2 separate regions of the Homo sapiens genome follow, and region 2 is linked to region 1. The links are contacts of gene promoters, found by promoter capture Hi-C in blood cells and fetal thymus (Javierre and others, 2016). All regions are on one chromosome and are shown on one strand. Each heading gives the region's core, a stretch centred on a gene start or on the middle of the fragment in contact. The rest is flanking DNA. Distances are from core to core; before and after follow the strand shown. Region 1 holds the start of ST8SIA4 (ST8 alpha-N-acetyl-neuraminide alpha-2,8-sialyltransferase 4). Region 2 holds the start of MACIR (macrophage immunometabolism regulator).

Region 1 (6,025 bases), core at 2,236-4,735:
TCATAAGCCAACTGTGAGGTCTACTAAGAAAGTAAAGTTAGTCAAGAACACACCACTTAATGCCTTCACTGCTCTTCAACTTAAACTTTATTAACTAATAGGCTTTTATGGAAGGAAATATGAATTTTAGATGTTCAATAATCATTACTTGACCTATGCTGGAACAATTCCTTATGTATTTAAAAAAACATGTCGCAGGTATTCCTTTGGAGATATGAGAATGTGGATGGTTGGTGAGAAGGTTGTGCTGGTTTTCTATTTTTCCATCTGCGTGGTATGACTGCTCAGTATTGTGGCATACTGTAAGAGTAACTATAGATGGGACCCCCATTTGCGGGGGGGAAGGGTCGAAGGGATAAAGGAACTGCCTTGTATTGCAAAATTGGTAGCAGAAAAGCTAAATATGAATCTGGGGTAGTGATGCAAGATTCAAGGACTATGGAAGGCCCTTCTTTGAAACTGCTGCCAAGCCACAAGGCTCGCAGTGCCCCCCAAAGGCCAGAGACTGCCTTGGTTACCTCACTTGAATACTGGACCGGGATCTGGAGCCGAACCTCCATTCCAGTTTACTCAAAACTCAAAACTGGCCTCTCCACGTGGCTTGGGTAGAAAGACAGTCAATGAGATGATTTGATGGTTTTATGAGTCAACTCCTCCACCAGAAGCGCTGTTTGGGAGTTGAAACGAAATAATGAGCTCGGGTCACAAGCTTTTCCACGAACCTTTCATCCTGGAGAAAAAGGAAAGTGCTCAGGGAGCCTAGCTGCCCTCGCATTGTTCCTGGCAGCTCCAACTCCTTGCACAGTCTTGGTCTCTCAGGAGACCAAGGCAGTCAGGACGCTACAGGGCACGGGTGTAAGCGCGACGTTCGCGGCCAGCCCTCTGCCTTGCCCCACTGTAATTGCGGGTTTTGATTAAGAAGGAGGAGCCAGTTGCCGACTGAGCTTTGAAAGTGACTTTGGGTGGGGGGTGGGGGTGGGGTGGGGGTGGAAGGAGGGGAGGGACCAAAAGAGCCTGAGTCCTGCAATAAAGGTTTCCCCCTATCTTCTCACTCATTCTTTCCCCCTCGCCGCCGGCGCTCTGGCAGCAGGGGATAACCCCGGTGCGCGCCTCTCTTCCTGTTTGGTTTACTCAAGCGCCTGCCCCAACGCCTTCTCAGTCAAGCTGGGAGGAAACTGCTTCAGCTTGAAAAGGATGCGGGCAAAAGCCCAGCCCGACTAGCTCAACCGCCGCGCCAGTGCCCGCCTCCTCTTCCTTAACGCCTAGGGCTGCGCCCACCAGCCGGCAACGTCCAGGAAAGGGCCACAGGAGAAATGACACCCGTGCAATGCGGAGTGTCCCGGCTCCGCTTCCCCGCAGGGACTCGAGGTGCGCTCCTTTTCCTGGCCACGGTTTAGGGAGGCTCGGAGATGGACACCTCGGCAGTATCTGGCGACCCTCTTCTCACTCGCTCCGCCCACTCCTGCTCTCCAGGGTCCCAGCCAAGGGCCCGAACCCTCGGAGTCCTAGTGAGCCTTGGCCGCTTTGTCTGGGATCAGGCTTATCCTCCTAGCCCACGGCCCGGGAGGGAACAAAGAGCCTCGACCCTCAAGCTCTAGCCTCTGCCTCTCATCGGAGCCCCATGCGCCCATTCATCACCTTTCTAAAGACCCCTTTGTCTGCCTGGCAAGCACAGGTCTGCAAGGGATGCCCACGCCCCTGCCCAAAGTCCTGCTTTTCTAACAACTGAGCTAGATTGGATTTTCAAGCCACCCAGTCTTGTGTAAACGACCTCATACCGGTCTTTTTTACCCCCTCAGAATAGACCATGTATAGATTCGTTGATGCATGACGACCATTCCAGCCCATTCCTTGCTAGCTTTTTCATTCTCTTCCAGTCCGCTTTGACTGTGCTACTGTTTTCCTGGTTTTCTACAGAATAGCAAGTCCTTCTGTAAGGATCAACCTGCATCTTGCTCGCTTAAATAAATGCTTATTACCTAGGGAGCAGGAATATTAAGAAATGGAGTGCAGGAAGTTTAAGAGCATGTGTGTGTGTTAGCAGTCCCATCTCTCTCTCTCTCACACACACATACACACACACGCAAGGGCTGTTTTCTTTGTTTTAATCAATGTCAGAGAAAAATATAAACTGGGCAGGCATCTCTGCTGGTGTGTAGTTTCTGATAGAGGACGCCTCCAAACCGGAACAGGGAGGATTTCCGAAACAGGACTTTGAATAGAGTTGACAATCAGGTTCACATCCTCAGAAAAAGCCTTCCAAGCTATGTCAGCAACACAAAGTTGCACCACCTCCTGGGTAAACTTCAAAGACACAGAGGCCAGCGGGTGGAAGGAAGTGTGATATTTAGAGAACTTAGTGGGGCGGGGGAGAGTCTGAACTCATCTAGACAAACTAAAAAAAATAGCAGAAATATAGTCTGTGTGAAGCTACAGTACCCAGTTTCTTTCTAAAACTGTAACCATGACGCCCATGCGTTTTAGCCGTAGAAGAACAAATAAGGAAGTATCCTTAGTGGTACTGGAGTTTCTAATTCAAATTATAACACATTAATCTATCCAACGTCAAATAGAAAAAAAAAAAGTAGAGAAACAGAGTATACCTATTTCCTGCTTTCTAAGCTTTAACTTCAGCCCTTCGAGAAACCATCTATCTCCAGTATCTCCTTAGGTGATAGGACATTGAAAACAGGCAACCGTTTGGTGAATAAAGACATTTCTCTTGAGTTCTGCCCACAGATTAAAAGGACAAGGACACACGTTCTTTGTTGACACTTCTGCAGTGACTTCTCCTTTGGCGAGAGAGCACCCAGGGCCAACACAACTGTCACCACAACCACACAGAGCAAGTTGAACTCATACTGGGAACAGCTTAGAGAAGCACGCACATCTCAACAACAGCCTTTGTTATTTAATTCATGACACTAACCACGCGCAAGCTCAAACAAACACACATGCTATCCTAACCATCACTCTACCCTCTATATTCACATTTCATTTATGGCTTGACTTTTTGTCATATCCTGAAATGAAGCTTTGCATTTACCCGATGAGTTGCGTCTCCTGGTGCTCCTCAGTTCTTGCTATTTCTTTTGTCTTATAAAAGATCAGGAGCAGACTTATTGTGCAGATCGTCCACCTCTTCCTAATGGAGCGCATCTTGGGTGCCCGAGAAAGTCCTGGTTGCCCCAGCTCCCGCACCTTCTCTTGATATAAAGGCTCCGTTTTGGGGAGATAGTCGCGGGGGTGAAATCTGTAAAATGCGAGGAGAGCTTGGAGCCGGGATCCCGGGATCAGATCACTGGGGTCTTCTGTGGCCGAGCTCCCTCTGGTCCTCGAACGCTGCCCAGCGACCTCTCGCCCTGTTTGCGCCAGCTCTGCCAGGGTCGCTCCGCGCCGCCTCCCTGGGGCTCAGGTTTCTTTTCAGATGAGACACCTTGTGCATTGGAGGTGGCGGCAGCTTCTGCAGCTGGGTTCGGGGGCGTCACTGGCCCTTCCCTCTTGCTAGGAGATAAACGCTGCGCAAAGCCAATCACCAGGCTGAGGGGGCGGAGGCTGCTTGGAGAGTAACGTCCCCGGCTCTGCCTGCTCTGTGCCGGGAGAGGAAGCTCACAGTGCTACGCGCCTGCGAGCTCGCGCACATACACATATACATACATACACACATACATACATATGCACACACACGTACACGCAGAATCACACACACTCTCCTGGGACATCAAAGCATCAGCTCTCTGGACCTGGGAGCTCCAAGATAGTCTATCCGCATCTAGGTGAGAGGGCACCTCGCCTGGGGACAGATTACAAAAGCGTCCCGCCAGAGGAATGCTTCAGGTAGAGCTAGGGGTGGATTGCAAGAAGAGTACCTTCTTTCAATCGCTTTTGCTAAACACACACCCTCACACGCAAAAACACGCCCTCCAAGGTGGAGTGAAACGGGGTGCGGGGGTGGGGACGGCGGTGGAAGGAAGAAGACTTTTATTACTCAATCTGGAAAGTGCAAATACACACATGAACCTGTTAGCCGATGGGCCCACTCTGCATGGGTGGTGGACGACGACCCTGGCTCAGGATTCTGCAGGAAACAAGTGATGATAGAGGTGTCATTAGGAACTTTATGGATATTTATGCGCCTCCCTTTCATTGCCATTTGGAAACTCCTCACGCAGAAGTCAAGGAAACTCCAATCCCACTTAAACTTCATTGCGGAGAAACAGAGTTCTGAAAAAAAAGCAGCTACCATGGACCTCTCTTTTAAACGCAAGTACACCCACACACATTCGGATACCAAGGAAGGAAGGAAAGAAAGAAAGGAAAGAAAAGGGAGGGGAGGAAGGAAGAGCAAAGTCCTCTCTAAAAGTCTCAATTATATATATAGCCTCTGATTGTCACCTCTCCTCCGTCCCACCATTTTTCGTACTTGTATTGGGTGGCAGGGACACTTTTCAAGAGTTCTGTGTTCGATTGTTCACTCTGAGTACCTCTCCACCATCCTCCAGTCGTTGCCCTCATTGGGAGAGATGCTTGCTACTCTGCTAGTACCACGCCTTGGTTCCGGTCTTTACTGTTGGCTGGTAGGTCGGGAGGCACCTCTAGCATGAGACAGTGTCTGGAAGCCAGGATTTCCCTCATCTATATGCGCCGGTCCCCAGCTCCCTGGTCGCCAGGGTTTCTCTCCAGTTGAATTCCGTGTTCCTTCAGGTTGAACAGTAGCTTCAGCGGTTTTTCACGCTCAGAAATGATGAGGCCCAATTCCAATCTTCCCTCCCGCCGGAAGTAAGAAGGGGAATTCTGAGTTGCTTGTCGCCTGACAGCTTAAAATAGCAACGAAAACAGCCAGCATCTTTGCTTAAAAACCCAAGGTTCCCGCCAGTGTTTACCATACTTCCTCTAGAGTTTAAGAAGTTAAGAACTTCCGAGATCTTGAATTTCCTCTTTGCAGCACAGCGAACGGGGTCGGGTATAAAAATGCTCCAAGGAGCAAGTAATTACGAACGTTTATTGACACTACAAGTGGCCCACAGGGAGCCTTTCGAGTTTATTGATGTCTAGGCAAATCCAGCCTGCATTAATGCATTTCTGTTAGATTGACTTCTGTTAGACTCACTTTTCTTCTGGCAAAAACTGCCAGAATAAAACAGCTTCTTATTTAAGTTAAAAGGGATCCGGGGCTGAGGGCAGGGGTCGGGTGGGAGAGGGATGCATGGTTAGGATGCTAAATTCTCAAGGATAAACTTTGATTTTTAAACAGTAGACAACTATATTTTAGATTATAGGTAAAACATCACTCTCTGTCAGGGATAGAGTAATATGCATCGTTTCATTAAACTCATTATTTCTTAAGCAATGGTTATGGGGCAGGCAATGTGTGCGGAGATGGGAACACAAAGATGAATAAAACTTAGCATCTAGTCAGACACAAATCCTACTCACTCAAAGGGGGCATCTTTTAAAAATAATAATTTACAGTATGGCAACATGAATCAGAAACATCATTTAAAATATATATGGTATCTGAGTAAGCTCCTGGGTTGAAGCAGATGGGGTGTTTAAGCCTTTTGAAGCCCGGAAGATGAGTTTCCGGGTGAAGGGGACACACAGACTCCTGTTTTCAAAGCTGACAAGGAAGTAAGCCAAGCAGAGGGAGGATAGAACATTGCAGGTGGAAAAAGGAGTATGCGCAACTCCAGAGAGTAATAAAACTCTGGTGCTTTGGGGCAACTTTGAAGTGGCTCAGTACTGTTAGAAGGGAAAGTGGTAAGGGAGAGTGCTGGTCCAAAAGTTTCGGTGTACTCATAATATTCTATGGCTCCAGAGTGTGGAACAGTCTTCTGTAATGAGAAAGCCACAAGAAAATCTTCAAGAGGAAAGTGAGTATAATCTATATTAAGCTTTAAATTACATTAGGGGAAACTACTTACCTAGCCCAAACAGGAAAAAACAAACAAACAAACAAAAAAAGAAAAGAAAAAAAAAAAAAAAAAGAGCGAAACGAAAGCAATCAAGAACTAGTTATAGGAAC
Region 2 (6,025 bases), core at 1,814-4,313, 2.4 Mb after region 1:
AGTGAAGACAATACCCAGTCAGTATCTCTAGGTGGCATAAACATATCCTTGATGGAGCCACACATAAAGCTATTATCAACCATTACTGCATGGTGAATTGGTTTATTAGGTGTTCTTTGTGACACTCAAGAACTGACTTAGGTTCTGATTGGGTGAAGATTCAGGGTTAGGATGGGAGCATAGAACACCACCCAGGGAGGGAGGCAATTTGGAGACAATGCCCTCAAGAGAGCTAGCCTTGAGCCTAATAAACTAAGAGGGGAACTTTATTGCTTTTGGCCAAAGCACACTGCCAAACTCTCAGCGCAAAGGGCAAGTACAAGACATTCTTCTGAAAAAGTTATAAGATTTCAGACAGGAAGAAATGAAATTAAGTCTCTTAATATAAAATATACAATGTTTTGGAGGTGGTTTTATGAGAATGATCATCAGGACAATACACTATTGTGTCAAACAGATTATAATCGGAAATAATTCTCGGTGTATTCTCCTAATGTACTGATGCAAAAAAAGTTTCTTCATTTATTTATTCATATTATGTTGTGCTAGCTTCTATATTTTTGAAATTACATGCAAATCTATGTCGGGAAAAAAAGTAACTGATGTTTTGTAAAATTGTTTAGGGAACATTCCTTAAAACTTATTCTTCCCTCTACCTTCCTTTACTTATTTTAGGGCACATAAGCAGTAGCATAAAATGGCTTATAGCTGAGCGGCCTCCGGGAGTGGTTCTGTTGGACTAGAGGTGTTTATATATTTTTTGCCTTTATATTATCAGGAACATATGTAGATTCTGGAACAAGTGTGAATCAAGACTCGTTTAAACTTATATTAATCTACTCCAGATTTATGTCTTTTATGTTAAGATAAAGCATTTTGTCTTTTAAAAAATAAAACTCTCTTGATTGGACACTGGTACCGAAATTTATAACACTTATAAACAATTTTGGGGTTCACCGACTGCGTACACATTCAGCCTTAGCCACTCAGTAGGCATATGACCTAAACTTTCTGCATTTTTAAAATGTGGATCATAATTGGTTACTTCCTCACAGAATGGTTATTGAGAGATGTAAATTTGGATATGCATGCCAGTAAATATTCTTATTGCTGAGCTTAACCAGTTCGGCAGAAATGTACATGAATTGAGAGAAGCAAATCTTCATCAAAGAAAATAATTTATTACAATAATAGACAAGATCAACATTTGTGCAAATTAAAAAATAGTTAATCCAATCAGAATCTGAATTTGAACTCCCCCCCCCGCCCCACCCCGCCACCTTCACTGGGTATTACGAGTTTTCGTAGACTGATCCTATAATTTTTAATTTCATGGCCTTCTAGTTTTCTGTACTTTTGCTTAGTGCTGAGCCCTTTAAGCAGAGACTCACAAGTGACAAATATCAGCACACCACTTAACTGAGGAAGCCGGAGTGTTCCCAGGTCCGCAAGTTGGAGCTCTTTAGTTGGAGTGCTGGGTTTAGACTAGAGAGCGGGTGTTGCGACTCCTCCTCCCCACCACCAGTCAACAACCCCGCCCACCCCCGCCAACTTCTTCTGGCCTCTTAGCGCCTTTCTGCAGCCAGCCGGCCCGCCCTTCCTCCGGGTGTCTGAGAGCTGGGCGCAGGAGGCGGGCTCAGCGCTGACGGGCTGCGCCTCTGCAGCCAGAGGGAGGAGGCGGGAAGGCGGGCGGAGGAGGAGGCGGAGGAGGAGGCGGAGGAGGGGGCGGGGACTAAGCAGGGCGGTAGCTGGCGCCGAGCGCGGTGGGAGAGGAGAGGGTACCCGGCTGGCTCGGCTGGCGGCCTCTGCCTGGATCTCGGCGCCGCAGTCCTGCGCCTCTCCCGCCCCTGTCTCCCGCTCCGCAGCCCCGGGCACGGCGGAGGCAGCGGAGCCCTGGGCCATCGGTAGGTTGCACGGGGACGACGGCTCCGTCTGTAACCTTTTGTGCTGCAGAAAAGGTGGTGGTTATGGGGGGCTTGGGGGAGTGGGTTTGCCCCAGGCTCCGATCCCCAGTGCCAGCCCTAATCGCGGCGCCGCCCCTTCCTCTCCGCCTCGTGTCTGGGCCGGGCGCACGATGCCCGCGGTGCTGGGGAAACCCGGCCGGACCAGCTTCTGCGATGGGCGGCGGGGCGGCCCCAGCGTCCCTTGGCCTTGGTGGACCGGTTCCCAGGCACCCGAAGGGGACTGGGGTCTGGTAAACTGGGTGGGGCCCGCGCGGGGTGCGGGGAGCTTGCGGTTCCCTGGCACAGGGGTGGGGCCGCAGACGCCGTGAGTGTGCAGCGCGTGTGAGTGTGCGGGGGCGTGCGCCCCCGTGTGCGCGCGTCGTGCGCTCGCTGGGGAGGTGCGGGGACTCGGCGACCCGGAGCGCCTCTCCCGCGGTGCCGCGGTGCGGAAGTCGGGGCGCGTTGGCGCGCACGCTCGCTCGCTCCCTCCCTTGGCCGCTGTTCCCGCACCGCGGGGCAGCGGGCCTGGAGGCCCCTTTGAGAAGTAGCTTTCCCCGGCCGGCGGCACCTTTGGCTGCGTGCCCGGCCGCGCTCAGGGTGCGACTGCCCGGGTCAGATAGCACCTCAGGGCGAGCCCCGGCGGTCTGATCTCGCCGACCCTCCTCGTCCTGGTTGCAACCCGCGTGCGAGGCCGCCCGCGCCCTCCGAGTGTCTGCCGGTGCAGTGGGGGTGGACTGGCCGGCTGTGGCCGTGTGTGCGCGTGTGGATTGGGGCCCGGTCCGAGCCAGAAGCTTAAGCGGCAGATGTCGGGCATTGCCACCCTCGCCCCACCTGTCGCGGGTGGACTTTGGGGCAGGTGGGAAGCGGAGGAGAGGGGTTTCGAGGCGGGTGGCAGTCAGACCTCCAGCAACGCGGCCCCATTGTGAAGCTGCCAAACTCTCTCTAGTGGTGGAATCTGCAGGTCTCCGCCAGAAAGGAGATGGGAACGCGAAGGGAATGATGGCCCCGTCCTTTTCCCCTTGCTAGTGTTCCACACGCTTAGGGACTCCCTGCCTCTCCTTCCACCTCAGTTTTCAACCCAGTGGGTTACTGATTTGGGTGGAACCAAGATTTCCGTGTGTGTGTGTGTGTGTGTGTGTGTTTGTGTGTGTGTGGTGCACAGGTAAAGCTGGAGCTGGGAACTTTTTATTTGAGCAGGAAGAATGGAGGCATTTTACAGTGTGCTTGCCGCTCCTAGCTGAAAGAACAATTCTTGCATATTTCTGATGTTACTAGACTCATTTTCCTTTTTTTTTTTTTTCCGAAGAGCCAACCTACAATTTAGGGTTGTTAGTTGTTTTATTTTCTCAAATCCTGTAATGCTGGATTGACACTATAGAGGTAGAAATGACCCTTTTGCAAAGTTTATTTTCCCAGTCATTTCAAAATATAGTATTGGTTATTACGGCAGAAGCTTTTGGCCGCGATTTATGATTACACTATTAAGTTTAATGAATGTGTCACAGAATCCTCAGTGTTTTAATTATGTAACTGTGAATGCATTATAAACTGAAAAGTAAAATGAACAGGATGGAATATAAGAGTTAATGAATACAGAGACCTGTTAATTTGATAATAATTGATGTATAGAATATGCTTTTGCTAACAGTTTATTTAATTGCAAATGAAAGTGTTAGTAATTATTTCAGTGTATAAGATATATTTATTGATATTATATAACAGTCAATGAATTTGCTTATTTTCTTTGTATATTTCTGTGTATTTTAGAGAGCTATTATAAAATTAACTCAAAAGTACTTAATATGGTTAGAGTAATAAAGCTTTATGTACAGGGTTTAAAATTTCTTTGCTGATTTGTAGCTGGGGGTGAGGTGGGGGATCAGCTCCTTTCCTCCAGAGAGAACTTTGATTTTGTCACCAGCCTATCAAAATGAGTACCTGGTTTTAAGCCTTCCCAAAGATTAGCCAATTCCACAGTGTACACCTGTTCCATTTTGATGATACTTCCTAAGAGACAAATTTCTTGTAAAGGCTGCATGTTGACCTTTAGTTCCACTTACTGTCGGTCATATTTGCAGTGAAACTGAGTATTTTTCTAAAAGTAGAAGGATGACACCACGTGATAAGAAGATATTAGTAACCTAGGTTTAATTTTTACTAGCAGAAATGGAAAGATAATGAGTGCTGCACTTTAAGGGGGTGGATTGCTATTAAAAGAACTGATACTAGAAAGAGAAACACATTTTTGTCTTACTGAACGAATTATGGGTTATCTTACAAAGTTGGCAAGGTTAATGGTTTGTTTGTAAGGTCAAGGATGGTTTCAGAAAAGTCACACCCTAGTTAACTCTTCTTAAAGAGTATTGATGACTTACTTTTTGCAAGTTGCAAATGGTAAAGTAAGAATATTTGAAAGAAGCCTCTAAGATGAGCATCTAGGTGCAGCTAAACATTTTGTTTTCATTGTTGTGTTGTACTTTGACAGTTAAGCCATTTTATTTCTGCTTAGTGTTCAGTTAGTATTCCTCCAGAGATGTTTTGGTTCATCTTTTACTTGTTTTTAGTGGTCTTTGAGATTAGTGGTTACAAAATATTTTCACTATTTTGAAAGAATTTTTAAAAATTGATGTTTTTTTTCCAAGTGCTTTTCCATTAGTGGTCTCTTCTTAAATAGCCACTCTGAAAATACTACCTGTTTTTCTTTTTCTTTCTTTCTTTCTTTCTTTCTTTCTTTCTTTCTTTCTTTCTTTCTTTCTTTCTTTCTTTCTTCCTTTCTTTCTTTCTTTCTTTCTTTTCTTTCTTGAAAATGTTTTGGTGGGCTTCAGGTTAGGGCCATGAAAAAAATGAAAATAAATGTTTTGATAGCTAGAATTAGAACTCACAGCTTCTACTGTACCAATTTCTCTGCCTAAAATTTGTCCTTTCATAATATAAACTTTAATGATGAATGTGATTTTTATTTACCAATATTTGAAAGGGCTATGTGCTGGTCCTCATATTTATAGTCTTATGATTTGTGATCAATGTTGTTAAATTTTTTCTTACTGCTGTTTTGTTAGTGATCTGTGCTGAAGCTTGAGATTCACGACTTTTTTGTGTGTTTACGAATTTTGTATGGACATAAACATTTCCAAATGGAGCTTTGTATATTTTTGGGAAAGGCACTCCCTTTTTTGGGTTCCTAGTGCCATTCAGGTTTACTGTTATTAGAAGGATTTATTTCCATGTCTGCCCTCCCCTCTGACCCAGTCTCAGGCCATCTCTTTATATGTGCACCAGTGCCTGCATAGTGTGGGGATATATAATAAGACTTAAGAAACATTGTTGAATGACTGAATAAGTGAATATCTAAGTGGGTACACCCGAAGAAAGAACTCAGACCTGTATGGGAATTCACCGTTCAAGCAGAAGGGTGTTTCCCTTTTTAAAAAAGTCATTGCCTTTCCATGTTGCTTTTGAGTAGGATAACAAATGAAACAGCCAAACTGAGACACTTTTGAGAGTTAAAGGGGGTTGCTTTCAATAATTATGCCAGGGTATTGACTATGAATTGAGATATATAGTCACTCTTCTTTTGAAAGGCATTCTTATTTACCTGTGATAATAACTATCACCTGAGAAATTCGATACATTTGGTAGTTAATGTTTGCAAACTTTTCTATTTGTAGAAGCTCCACTTGCAGTGAAATGTTGGGTGTCTTTTGCTTAGTCACCCATGACTTTCTTATCCAGAAGTCTGTGGGCAGCTCTTGGCCACTGCTTGGTTTTTTCCTATTTTTATTGCTTATGGGATAATGTCCCACTGCATTCTGTTTCAGCTTCTTATAACTGGAAGCATTTATTATATCTTGTAGCCTTTGCTCTATTTACTTCAGTCTTTGTTTTTATGCAGCATTTAGTCTATCTTCTAAGAATTTCACATGGATTCCTTTTCCTCTTGCTGACTGTTTTGGAGAGGAAATCTGTTGATATCTTTCCAAGCCTTCAGTGTTTAGAACATTGGCCAAAATCAGTTGCAAGCGTTAGAGAATTATAGATTTTTAAAGTATTCTAAAAATGTGTGTTATTTGAAAGGTACATGT

The links. The method cuts DNA at HindIII sites, captures the fragments that hold promoters and counts their contacts. A CHiCAGO score of 5 or more calls a contact.
Region 2: a fragment that was not itself captured here is called in contact with the fragment with the promoter of ST8SIA4 in region 1 in 1 of 17 cell types (non-activated CD4 T cells); the score reaches 5.0 in non-activated CD4 T cells.

What each region holds. Positions count from the first base shown.
Region 1 is chr5:100,899,797-100,905,821 of GRCh38, forward strand. ST8SIA4 (ST8 alpha-N-acetyl-neuraminide alpha-2,8-sialyltransferase 4) reads right to left here and starts at 3,486. Exons shown (of 5, transcript NM_005668.6): 1 at 3,047-3,486. The coding sequence starts at 3,159. LOC107986437 (a long non-coding RNA gene) reads left to right here and starts at 3,612. Exons shown (of 2, transcript XR_001742825.3): 1 at 3,612-5,873. RefSeq lists enhancers at 609-828, 935-1,436, 2,574-3,143, 3,629-3,868, 4,649-4,888. The HindIII fragment of the contact is 2,860 bases long and covers 3,033-5,892 here.
Region 2 is chr5:103,256,993-103,263,017 of GRCh38, forward strand. It overlaps MACIR (macrophage immunometabolism regulator), which reads left to right and starts at 1,771. Exons shown (of 3, transcript NM_033211.4): 1 at 1,771-1,904. RefSeq lists silencers at 1,432-1,941, 2,152-2,531. The HindIII fragment of the contact is 662 bases long and covers 2,733-3,394 here.